3 separate regions of the Homo sapiens genome follow, and all the other regions are linked to region 3. The links are contacts of gene promoters, found by promoter capture Hi-C in blood cells and fetal thymus (Javierre and others, 2016). All regions are on one chromosome and are shown on one strand. Each heading gives the region's core, a stretch centred on a gene start or on the middle of the fragment in contact. The rest is flanking DNA. Distances are from core to core; before and after follow the strand shown.

Region 1 (3,707 bases), core at 591-3,090, 120 kb after region 3:
GACTCCATTATATTTCATAAAATAGTTTAGAAAACCCCCAGCATAAAACACCATCATAATTGTAATCATATATTTGGAGATTTAATGTGCACACCATAATGTACCATTAGTTACACAAATAACTAATAATTTGCTAATGACAATATTATGTTAAGTCAGTTTAGGGGCAATTAAAGTGAGTGATATTTACATATGCCTAATGAATCACAGTCGATGGCAGATTAAGAGATTCTAATGAATATTCATCCAGACATTCGCAACCAGCTTCACAGTTTATAAACTGAATTATGGTTGATTTGCCCTTTTAAAAATGAATATGTGAGTATCTTCTGCATGGTGAGAATGAACAATTGGGCCTGACTGTAAAATTTTTTTTAAAGCAATGTACTGGTCAGAACACAAAACATTTTTATGCACTCTCATACCCTCCGCTTCGCTGTTCTTTTTTATATCACAGATCAGTGTTGACGAACTATCTCCATTTTCATTCTAATCTATGACATGAAATATAGAAATTGTTTAGTATAAGATTAAATGGAATACAAGTTTTATGCAGCCCCACTGAGGAAATAATTACAGGTAGTCTTTGCTATTGAAACAGCGAATACACACTCTTTTTTTATGCAACTCAGAAGGCTGTTTTTGTAGCTATACTTTGTCATGATAAAATTGGGGTAGATTTACTATTCTTGCAACTTGGTCATTTAAAACAATAACAAAGCAAACAAAAACACCTTGCTTTGGCCCCGTTAACACAAATTAAGACCAAACAAGGTTATGGTTTGAACATTTACTTTTTCCTCAAAACTATAGCCCTTTCTGCCTTTACTAGCTGTTCCTCATAAATATTGTGAGTTTTATCCCTGTTGCAAAAACAAAGGCCAAACTCTTTTTGTCTCCCTCAAGGCCCCACAATAGGTTTATGACAGACTTGATGCCTATAGCCCCCATTTCTGTTTTACCTTAAATCAGACAATGTTGTTTCTCTGCTATTCAGATTAGAAAGGTATTCATGATTGCCCTTATTATTTCTTTACATGAGGAGATAGAGGCTAGAACCAGAGCATTTGGATGATGGGAGTTACTAAGACAATTGAGTAAGCTTGTGCTTGATGTTTGTTCCATATAAGATGTCAACCTCATATTAACACAATATTAAGTGAAATCTTAAGCATTTTAAAGGCCTACGAGATTAACTTCGAAGCTGACATTTCCATTCAGCATGTTTTCACAATGTACTTTCATAATTTCATTGCATGTTATTAAAACTTTTAAAGGTCAAATAGTATGACACTTGTCAGAATTGATGACTTTTTGCTTTCCAAAAATCATGCCAATTGAGTATATTGCCAGTAGGGTTAAAGAAGGACTTTGTCCACCCAATCTCTCTGTGGCCACCTAAAAGCTCATTGTGATTTCTTTGCGCTGATATTCTATTCATAGAACTTTGAATGTGAATGTCTGATTCCTGGAGATCTGGTGTTCCTGGGTGAGCTTAGTTGGGCAAATTTCTGCCTGCAGCACCTTCAGGGAGGTTTCTAGCAGTGCTTTTGTCATCAGTGAGTCGGCACGCCATTCAGCTCCATAAACCATGCATGCTCTAGGAAGGCAGCACATTCACTGTCTCCATCACACTTTTGCTTTAAAATCTTTTGCTGTTTTTTCTCAGGTGCACGAAATTTGATACATTCAGTCCTCCTCCTCATATCATGCTCTTTTGGACTATGGAAGAATTAGGATTCTTGCTTTCATTCCCAGATGCCCTCACGTGAAATAGATTTTGAAGGCCTTGCTAAGCCCTGAATACAGATGCCCTGATACCAGTTTGTCCTTGTGCTGCTGGAAGCAAGACTAGTCCCATCTCGACTACCCCTCCTCACCCCTGGGTCTTTTGAAGGTTGGGCTGGAAACTACAGATGAGTTTTGAACTATGATCCCTAGGGCTCTGGGACTCTAGTGAATGTCTCACGGGTTTCTGCAGAGAACAGGGTGGTGCCCCACAGGCACTGCCTCAGGCCTCATACTCCAGCTTTCATCTGGGCTTCCTTGGTTCTCTCTGTTTTAATTATTTTACTAGAAAGGAAGTATACTTCTGCTAGAACTTGTTTGGGAAATCACTGATACAGTGAGGAACAAGTGCAGGGATTTTGTAGTCAGGCAGACCACAGTTCAAATCTGTGCTCTACTGTTCGCATGACATTTGGTAAATTACTACTTCGAGCATCCATTTCCTTATCTGTTAAACTGGAATAGGATAACTACCTCTCAGATTTGTGGCAAAGATGAAATGGATTTGCATATTGATTGTACTGCTGGGTACTTTCTAAGTGCTTTAGAAATGTTGGTCTTCTCTTTCTTCTCTTACTGGTTATGCTAGTAATCTAAACTCAAAAAAATTCAATTGAGGTAGAGTGATCATGTGTCCTAGTTTGCCTAGAATAGTTTTGGCTTCTCCCTGTTCTCCCAGCATAATTTTTCAGTGTCTTGCATGTTTAGCAGTGTCCCAGTTTGGATGACAGAGTAAGAGATTACCCCCAATTCTGCTGGCAGTTTATAAATTAACTTGATCTTCTTAGGTACAAGCTTGCTGCTGCCATTTTCAGGCAGTACAGCAATTGCATTTGACATTAAGCCCTGAAACTCATGCCCCCCTTGTCCCCCGCCAGGAACTGTTGAAAATCTGAAGTCAAAAAGGAGAATCTATTCATGACAGTAGCAAATGATGAATGATCACATACCAAGTGCTTGTGTGGATTCAACACAGAACCAGATGCTTTATGAATGAAATTACACTCTCTGAGGAAGATATTAGTGTCCCCATTCTGCGGATAAGGAACTGAGGCTCAAAACAGTTACATAGACAACAAATAGGCAGAGGAGTTTGAATTTAATCCCAATAATCTGCCTTTTTGTATACAGCAAATAGAATACTTCAAAAGTTACCTTATATATTTTTATTATATTTACAGCTCTACAAGTCTCTCTCTCTCTGTATTTGCCAGATGTTCATTTATTTATTTATTTATTGTTGTATTTGTTTATTTTTTTGAGACAGGGTCTCACTCTGTCGCCCAGGCTGGAGTGCAGTGGCACGATCTTGACTCACTGCAACTTCCACCTCCAGGGTTCAAGAGATTCTCATGCCTCAGCCTCCTGAGTAGCTGGGACTACAGGTGCACATCACCACACCTGGCTGGTTTTTGTTTTGGTGGAGACAGGGTTTCACCATGTTAGGCTGGTCCCAAACTCCTGACTTCAAATGATTGACCTGCCTCAGCCTCCCAAAGTACTGGGATTGCAGGCATGAGCCACTGTGCCCCAGATGTTCAGTTTTTTAAAATGCAGGGTTGGCATTTTCAAAATTTGTATAAGTATTTCCTTAGTCTTGTAAGGCTTTTTCTGTAAGTCTTATATAAGTATTTTTCAGGGGAAATCATTAATGTAGCATTTATATCTTTAGACTTTCATATCATGAGGTAGGAATCAGTGTCTTAGAGTCAACCTGGAGTCCCACTGGGTAGAGTGTGAGACACTTGGAAGATGCGATAGGCAGGATCAACCCCTCACTTCTAGGAATACCTTCTTCACTGGCCTCCACTTGGAGAGATAGGTCAGGGCCTAGATGGTGGCCATTTAAGACAGAATAAACATTATATAATCTAAGGGAAATCACACATTGATAAGCTCATATGTTACCATGGGCTAGG
Region 2 (3,657 bases), core at 353-2,852, 74 kb after region 3:
AAGAAAACCATGTAAAGGTTGTCAGATTTAGCACATAAAAATATTGCACAGGACATAATTATACTAAAAAGGTATTTGTTGTTTCTTTGAAATGCAAATCGATCTGGGCATCTGCTTCTTATCTGGCATCTCTAAATCATGGTCTTTGTCTTCCCATGGTTTTCACTGAGTCAATAAAGGACACAGTCAAGTATCCTTCAGGTGATCACAACACACTGGTGAGAGCCATAAGTGAGTCCAAAGTGGAGAAATGTATCCCAGAAAAGTGGTGTCTAAGCTGAGATGTGCAGGTGAGTAGGAGTTAGCCAAGCAAATATTCTGCCTGTGAAAGGTTTCAGGCAAAAGGATCAGTCTTTAGGAAGGTTCTGAGGTAGAAAATGGTTTGGCAATTTTGTTAGATTGCTGCAAAATTGAACAATTTACATAAGGGTGAGGGGAGGGTACCTCAGGAGGCTCGGCTGCATACCAGTCCCTGATTCCTTCTGTTTCTGCCTTATTCTCCCAGCCCTCTCCTTCTTTGACTTAAGCCAGCCTGAGTGCCTTTTAATGATTTATAAGTAGAAACAATCCTAATCAATAAAAGTTACCACTTAGTAAATAATGCAGTGAGCATAAGTGGTGGAGATTCTGCTCTTCTGGAGAGAGGAGTGGTCAGATTATAGAGTTAATTTACAATGAGAAAAATCTCCCATTGTTAAAGTTTTCTTTGAACAATCTCTTGGATGATCTGCCAAGGCATCCACTGAGAGGCATTCAGGAGGGAGACAGCCTGGAGAAGAGAGGCCTAGCTCCCTGTCCTGCTCACCCCAGGGCGCAGATTGTGGTTGGAATGTCAGGGGACTGACAGTTTACATTTGTGCTTCTTCCATTAGCCAATGGTATATTGCTGAATTTGTGTCGAATGTATTTATGTAAGTTGAATGGGAATTCATTGATAGTGAATAGATGGAGACTGTTGTGGTTAGAGACAGAGTGGACACACACACACACACACAAATTTGGTTTGGATGGCAAGACTGCTGATGCCACACATGTACCAGAGGGAATGAAAAGGTTATGACTTACAGAATGAGGCTTTCTGGGGAGAGTGGGTAGGCTCCCAAGCAGGTCCACAAATGGCTTGAGAGAGCAGTGAAAGCAAATGACTTGGCTTTTCTTGTGGTTAGGGGATGGGGTTGGCATAACGGATCTTGGGTGCAGCTGAAGCTTGTGTGATTTGAACCAAAAGAGAGATCACCCAGGCTTTCTTACCAGCTTGTCCAGATATGGGGCAAGAGGGGAAGGGGGAAGACTGGGGATTGAAAGTTGTTTGCAAACATCAAAAATGGAGTCAGACTCTTTATTACAAAGAGATTTTCTGATATTTTATTTTTCTGCTTCTGATTGATGATATTTTCAAGGATCCTGTACATTAGTGTGCAACTTTGCACTAATGTATACATTAGATCTATCAAACACGGTCTGGCAGGAAAGCGTTAGCATACGAAAATGGGGTAGTTTGAAGAGAGTTTAACAAAGGGGCAATTAGCAAAAGTGTGGGTAAAGTATCAGAAAACAACAAGGGATACTGCAATGTCCAAGGATGAATAATAACATCTGGGGCTCCATTAAATACTCACTTTTGATGGAGAAGGCAAAGGAGAGGTTGCCAAAACCCGGACAGTTGTCAGAACCCAGAAAAGGAGGAGGAGAAGGAGGGGAGGGGGAGGAGGGGGGAGAGAGAGAGAGATCGGTATGGAGAGGGCTACCTAACAGGGGCTGTGCCCTTAGGAAATCAGCCACCTACAAAGATCCCCTCCAGAAAGGTCACAAGGAGCCCATAATACCCCAACTTCACTTTCTTTCCTCCCTCTGATCTGCCATTACCCCCCAGTGGCCAACTCAACCAGAAGTCAGAGGGCAAGGCTGCCGGCTGAAGCAGTTTGTAAAGTCTACCTTTCAGGATACAGAGAGGTCTCGAGAGGGATTTGCAGGGGCAGGAGAAGATTTCCAGTTTAGGAAGCTTCACTGGGTTTTACCCTTTGGCGATAGGATGGAAGCCTGAGTCTACCCATAGACAATTTGGTGAAAGTAACTGTTCCCCTGTTCTCCACTCTTCTGGGAAGGTTAATAGGTCTTAGCATATAACATACAAAAGTTCTTGTATTTTAAATGGGTGGTTTTCATTACACATGGAGTGGTAATTTGGGATATGTAAAGAAATATGTTTTGTGCCTTCTTTCTCTTGCTTTCTTTTAAATAAATGTTAGAAGTTCAGAGAAAAGAAGAGCCAGGACAGGACAGCATAGAAAGTATATGGTAATGTGCACCAAAGCCTTGGGCATAGTGATAGGTCAAGTGCTTACTCATCAAGCTATCTGCAAAATCCTATCAGAAAACCTCCCATGAGAAATGTGACGAACAAGATTGACTTTGCAGGGACTGTCTTACGATGAGTACTTCATCTTGTCTATCTCGTCTGTATCAAAGTTTAATTCCTTTATCCAAGTTCTTAATAAAGGAATTAATTCTTTTATCCCATCTGTGTGCCACACACCCTATGCTAATTAATTAAAGTATATGGGAGTTCGTACACACAGCACAGGAGTACTGAGGCTAGCTGAGCCATAAAGCAGTTGTTTGGTGTTCTCTGCTTCTATTCCTACCCTTTTCCTATGGAGTCAAAATTTAACGCCAGCACACATTGATAACAACACAGCAGCTTTTCTGAAATTTATTTTCCATTCTAAAATGCATTTGCATTTCAAGTACTTATTTTGGCCTTCATTTTCATGCAATTTTGTTTATAGCACTAGAAATAGGGCAGTGTGACTTTTTGTTCCTTTTATTACTCCAATCTGATACCCAAAGAGATGAAGTCAAAATCATTAAGCAAATGGTAGGAAGCAATCAATGTTTCTAAATAAAAGGTCACACAATAAGGAAAGATGAAAGTGAAATACAGAAAATAACTCACTGATTTGGCTCAAAAATCTTTACATTTTTATCGATCTACAAGTAAAACATTGAAATGAAAAATAAAGCTTCATTTGGCATTCCTTGGTAACTATGACATTTCTATTGAGCAATGGACTGAGTCGATACATAGCCATTTTTGGAAACTCCTTTGGGTTAAAAAAAAATAAGAATAGGAAAAAACTGAGATCAGGCATGAGCTTTCCTTATAGGTTGACTAGCAAGGCTTCCCAAACTATGAATGCTTCAGGCGTTTATTCTAGCACATGTTCAGGGTAGCTACAATCGGTGCAAAAAGGAAAAATTTTTTAAATAGACAGTGGAGATGTGTTCTGGGAACAGAAATGAATATGTCCTAAGGTGTGGCCCTGGAGCCAGGAGCCATCCTGCAATGTCAGGGAAATGCAGTTAACGACCTCCAAGCTTAGTTGTTAAGACGATGATCACGGGCATGTTTGGTATATTTTTCCCCCCAAGTTTGGCAAGCAGCCTAACTAAATGAAACCTCTCAGTGTGCTGATGTTTATAGTACTCGATTAGTGTCAGCTCAGAATGAAATAAATACACGTAGCAATGCCTTTTGCAGAGGCAGCTTCACTTGAACGTGTTGACACAAAATGTTTGCTTTCTGTTACATACATATTGGACTCTTTAAAATGCTCTTAAGTAAAACGATACACCGAGTAGAAAAACTGCACACAC
Region 3 (3,659 bases), core at 782-3,281:
CCTCCCAAAACCAGGATAAGTTTTCAAAGCTGATAATAGAGAGAGCCAACCCCGCATGCAGAATAACTGAGCGAGGGGGGGTGGCGCAAGCTACTAGAGGGAGCCCAGGCTTTTACAATAGCGGCCCCAGAACAGCAAAGGAAGGTTCCGAATAAAGTTTGAAGGGGGTGGGGGTGGGAGAAGAAGCGCGTGTGCGTGAGTGTGGGTCTTTGCACTCTGCCCCTTTTTTCATTTCATACAACCACAGACAGATATATGGAGTACTTGGGATAATTCACTAATAAATCCTTGTTACAAGGAAAACGGCACCACAGCCTGCACGACATATTCAGACAAGATTCATTTAGAAGCGTGCATGCATTCTTTTGACCTACACTGCGTCGAAAGGAAAACCCACATAGGAGGTGTCATGCCCTGGACCTCGGTTGAGATTCAAAACTTGGGTCTTGATCTCTCTCGCGCTCTCTCTCTCTTTCTCTCTCCATTGTCTCTAGAAAAACTGTGGCAAGGACAGAGACAATCATAATCGCATCCATCTCAAGAAAATATTTACATTTGTTTTGCACAAAAGGGATGGCCGTCTTTTTCCAAAGCGAGAACACAGAGTCAGAGAAAGCCAACTCAAAAGTCCCTTCGCAAGTTTTTAACTACACCGATCCCATCTTTATACAACAAATGCAGTTTTGACAAGAGCATATGGCAGTGAAAAATACTGGCGCGGCATGGGGAAAAGAAGCATGCATGCAAAACACACGACATCTGGTTCGAGTCCCCCTTTGCTACCACCTAGAAATTGCGGTTTGATTTTGGTCCTTTCCCTCCGGGGGTCAAGTGGAGTCTGAGATCTCTCAGACAGCGTGGGAGGCTGCGGGCCCCGGAGCCTGCCCTCCCGTGGGCCGAGCGTGCAGCCTCCCTCTTCCCTCCCGGCCCGGCACCGCGGCCCCTCCCGCCGCTCTCCCTCCTCCTTGGCAGCCGGGCCCGCCCGCTGCTCACTTGAGCAAGTCCTTGGACTCGGCCGACAGCCGGGCCATGTTGGCTGTGGAGAGAGCGGACAGGTGCGGCGGCGGCGGCATCTGGCAGATGGTGCAGGGGCAGGGCAGACCAGCCCAGTGCTGGAAGCCGCTGCCCAGCTGCAGCGCGGGCGGCGTGGAGGGCGCCTTGAGTAGCGAGTGGGGAGGCCGGATGGTGCCGATGGCGGGAAGTGAGGCGGCGGACAGCGGTGACGAGGCGTTGCCAGATGAGAGCGCGCCGCCCAAGATGGGGTGCACCGGGTGCACGGAGTTGGCCGCGTGCGCGGGGTGGCCGGCCGAGTGGCCCACGGTCCCGCAGTGAAAGGCCGAGTGGTGGCCCCCATAGATCTCGCCAACCAGCCTCTTCATCTCCTCCAGGGAGCTGGTGAGCATGAGGATGTAGTTTCTGGCGAGCAGGAGTGTGGCGATCTTGGAGAGCTTGCGCACCGACGGCCCATGCGCGTAGGGCATGACTTCGCGCAGCCCGTCCATGGCTAGGTTCAGGTCGTGCATCCGCTTGCGTTCGCGTCCGTTGATCTTCAGCCTCAACTGCTGTAGGTCCTGCTCCGACAGCTGCTTCTTGATTTTGTACTTGCTGCTCTCTCCCGCGGCCTTGGCGCCAGCCCGCGAGAGGCTTTCCCCGGGCATCTTCTGCATCATATCGCCCTGCGTGGACGAGACCGAGTTGAGACGGCTCTCCTGGTGGTGGTGGTGGCGGTGGTGGTGGTCCCTCAGGTACATCTCATCCATGTCCGGAGATGAAGCTCTGCTGGAGACAGAGCTCGAATCAGAATTCATTTTATTACAGGGGATGCGGCCCTACCGTGGGGAGGCTTTAGGCGGGAAATTAAAGAAAATCTTGAATTAAAAAAAAAAAATCTGCACTGCCCAGGAACCCACTTCTCCGCGGCAAGACGTGAGAAGAAAAGCGGAGACGCTGCTTTTCCCCGCCTCTCTCCCTCCCACGCCCCTCTCTCTGGTTAGGCTGCTTCCTGGACAGCTAGTTGGTGTGTGCTTGAACTAACCTCACGCTGAAAAAGAGGGGCTTTTATAGAGCTGCGGCGGAGAAAAGAGACAAAAGGAGCCCTCCTATCTATCCTGGGCTGGTTAGGATGACGTGCCATCATTCAGGGCGGTGCGCTTTGCTGTCCCATTTAGCAAGGATTCCTATTCATATTCATTGTGGGGCCGCCCTGGGACACCTCTGCTCCGAACCGCTAGGAGCCCCCAGGCACAAAACCCTCTGATTGACACACTCACCGCTCCAGCTTACGCCTTCCTGATTTTTTTTTTAACTTTCTTCCACCCCACCCCCCTTCCCAATTTCTCTAACCAAATCACACATCAGGAACGGAAGGAAGGCAAGAGAAGGTGGCCAGGCGGTTGGTGGAGGTTCCTCTGAGTTTGGAGAGAGGAATTGAAACATTCGCTCTCCTTTCTTTCCTGGCTGCTCCCAAGTTTAGAGAAATATGGGCAAAAATAGGTCTCAGTGGAAAGGTTTGAGGGACAGAGGTGCGGTCGGAGGGAAGGTGCTGCCAGCGGGGGCTGGGGGTGGTGGGAAGACTGCATGCCGACTTTCTCTGTCTCAATATTTTTTTTTCATTAGATCTCTTTTCCTAAACACTTCCATTCTGTCAATTTTGTTTATTGGGCCCTTCTGGTGTGGTTTCAACGGGATGTCCATGTTCGGTGATGGCTTTGCTCCTGGCAGTATTGTGGCGGAGAGGTCTCTTATTTTCTGTGTCCTCTCTTTCGTTTTAAAACATGGATTTCTAAAAGAATTTCAGTTTTGCACAATTCTTTAACTTCCTAGACCAAAAACTGCGAAAAAAAAATGTTAATGTCACAAGAAAAGCAACTTGGGAGGATGGGAAGGAAAAGGAGCCAAGGAGGCAGAGAGAGAGATTGTTAGGTTCCTGAGAGCTCCAGAGAGATTGTTCCCACTCCAGGCTTCCTGGACCTTGGCGCTGGCGCAAAACGGTGGGACGGTCCGCGCCCGAAGCTCCGCCGGGCCTCCTCTGGCCGCTGTGCTGACGTGCCCCGAGCTCCGGGAACTCAGCGGCACCCCGGCCTGCGCGGGTGGGTCCACCAGGCTGGGGCCGCCGTACGGCGTCGGACAGGGAAATCAGAAGCTCATAATAAACTATCTGATGTCGGGGTGGTGGGGCGGGGGGGTGGGGTGCGTGGGCAAAGAAGCACGGGGGAAGGGAAACAACGAAAGGACCTAGAAAGCCCCTTGTGCGTGCCCGGGCACTGCGGTTCAGCGCAGAGTCGTTTCTGGGAATAAAGAGGAGGTCGGAGTTTGGAGCCTTCGGTGCGAGTGCGGAGGTGGGCGTAGATCTTTCTTCCCCCTTGCTGTGTTTTTGTGATCAAGACTTTAGCTCAGCAGCACGAGGGGCGGGAAGGCAGAAATCCCGGGAAGGGAGAGAGCCCCAGGAGTGGTCTCTAGAAGAACCCGGACACCGCCCCTCTCCCGGCTTGGTGGAACGGGAAACAAACGCTAGCTAGTGACTGAGAGTCTCGGTGGAAGTGTGAAATCGAATCAATCGCGGAACCTCGGGCACTTGGGGCCTCTTGCGCCGCTGAGTCACTTCGAAGAACAGGATGCCCCCCTTTCCCTTGACTCAAACCGAGCGGTCAGTGGGAGAG

What was found. The method cuts DNA at HindIII sites, captures the fragments that hold promoters and counts their contacts. A CHiCAGO score of 5 or more calls a contact.
Region 1: a fragment that was not itself captured here is called in contact with the fragment with the promoter of OLIG3 in region 3 in 1 of 17 cell types (non-activated CD4 T cells); the score reaches 5.0 in non-activated CD4 T cells.
Region 2: a fragment that was not itself captured here is called in contact with the fragment with the promoter of OLIG3 in region 3 in 1 of 17 cell types (non-activated CD4 T cells); the score reaches 5.2 in non-activated CD4 T cells.

The regions. Positions count from the first base shown.
Region 1 is chr6:137,614,523-137,618,229 of GRCh38, forward strand. No RefSeq gene overlaps it. Among named protein-coding and RNA genes, the nearest start is that of LINC03004, 49 kb to the right of the region's middle. RefSeq lists an enhancer at 1-946. The HindIII fragment of the contact is 1,481 bases long and covers 1,101-2,581 here.
Region 2 is chr6:137,567,119-137,570,775 of GRCh38, forward strand. No RefSeq gene overlaps it. Among named protein-coding and RNA genes, the nearest start is that of OLIG3, 75 kb to the left of the region's middle. The HindIII fragment of the contact is 796 bases long and covers 1,205-2,000 here.
Region 3 is chr6:137,492,363-137,496,021 of GRCh38, forward strand. It overlaps OLIG3 (oligodendrocyte transcription factor 3), which reads right to left and starts at 2,032. Exons shown (of 1, transcript NM_175747.2): 1 at 1-2,032. The coding sequence starts at 1,808. The coding sequence ends at 990. RefSeq lists enhancers at 942-1,441, 3,123-3,656, 3,657-3,659. The HindIII fragment of the contact is 6,431 bases long and covers 1-3,659 here.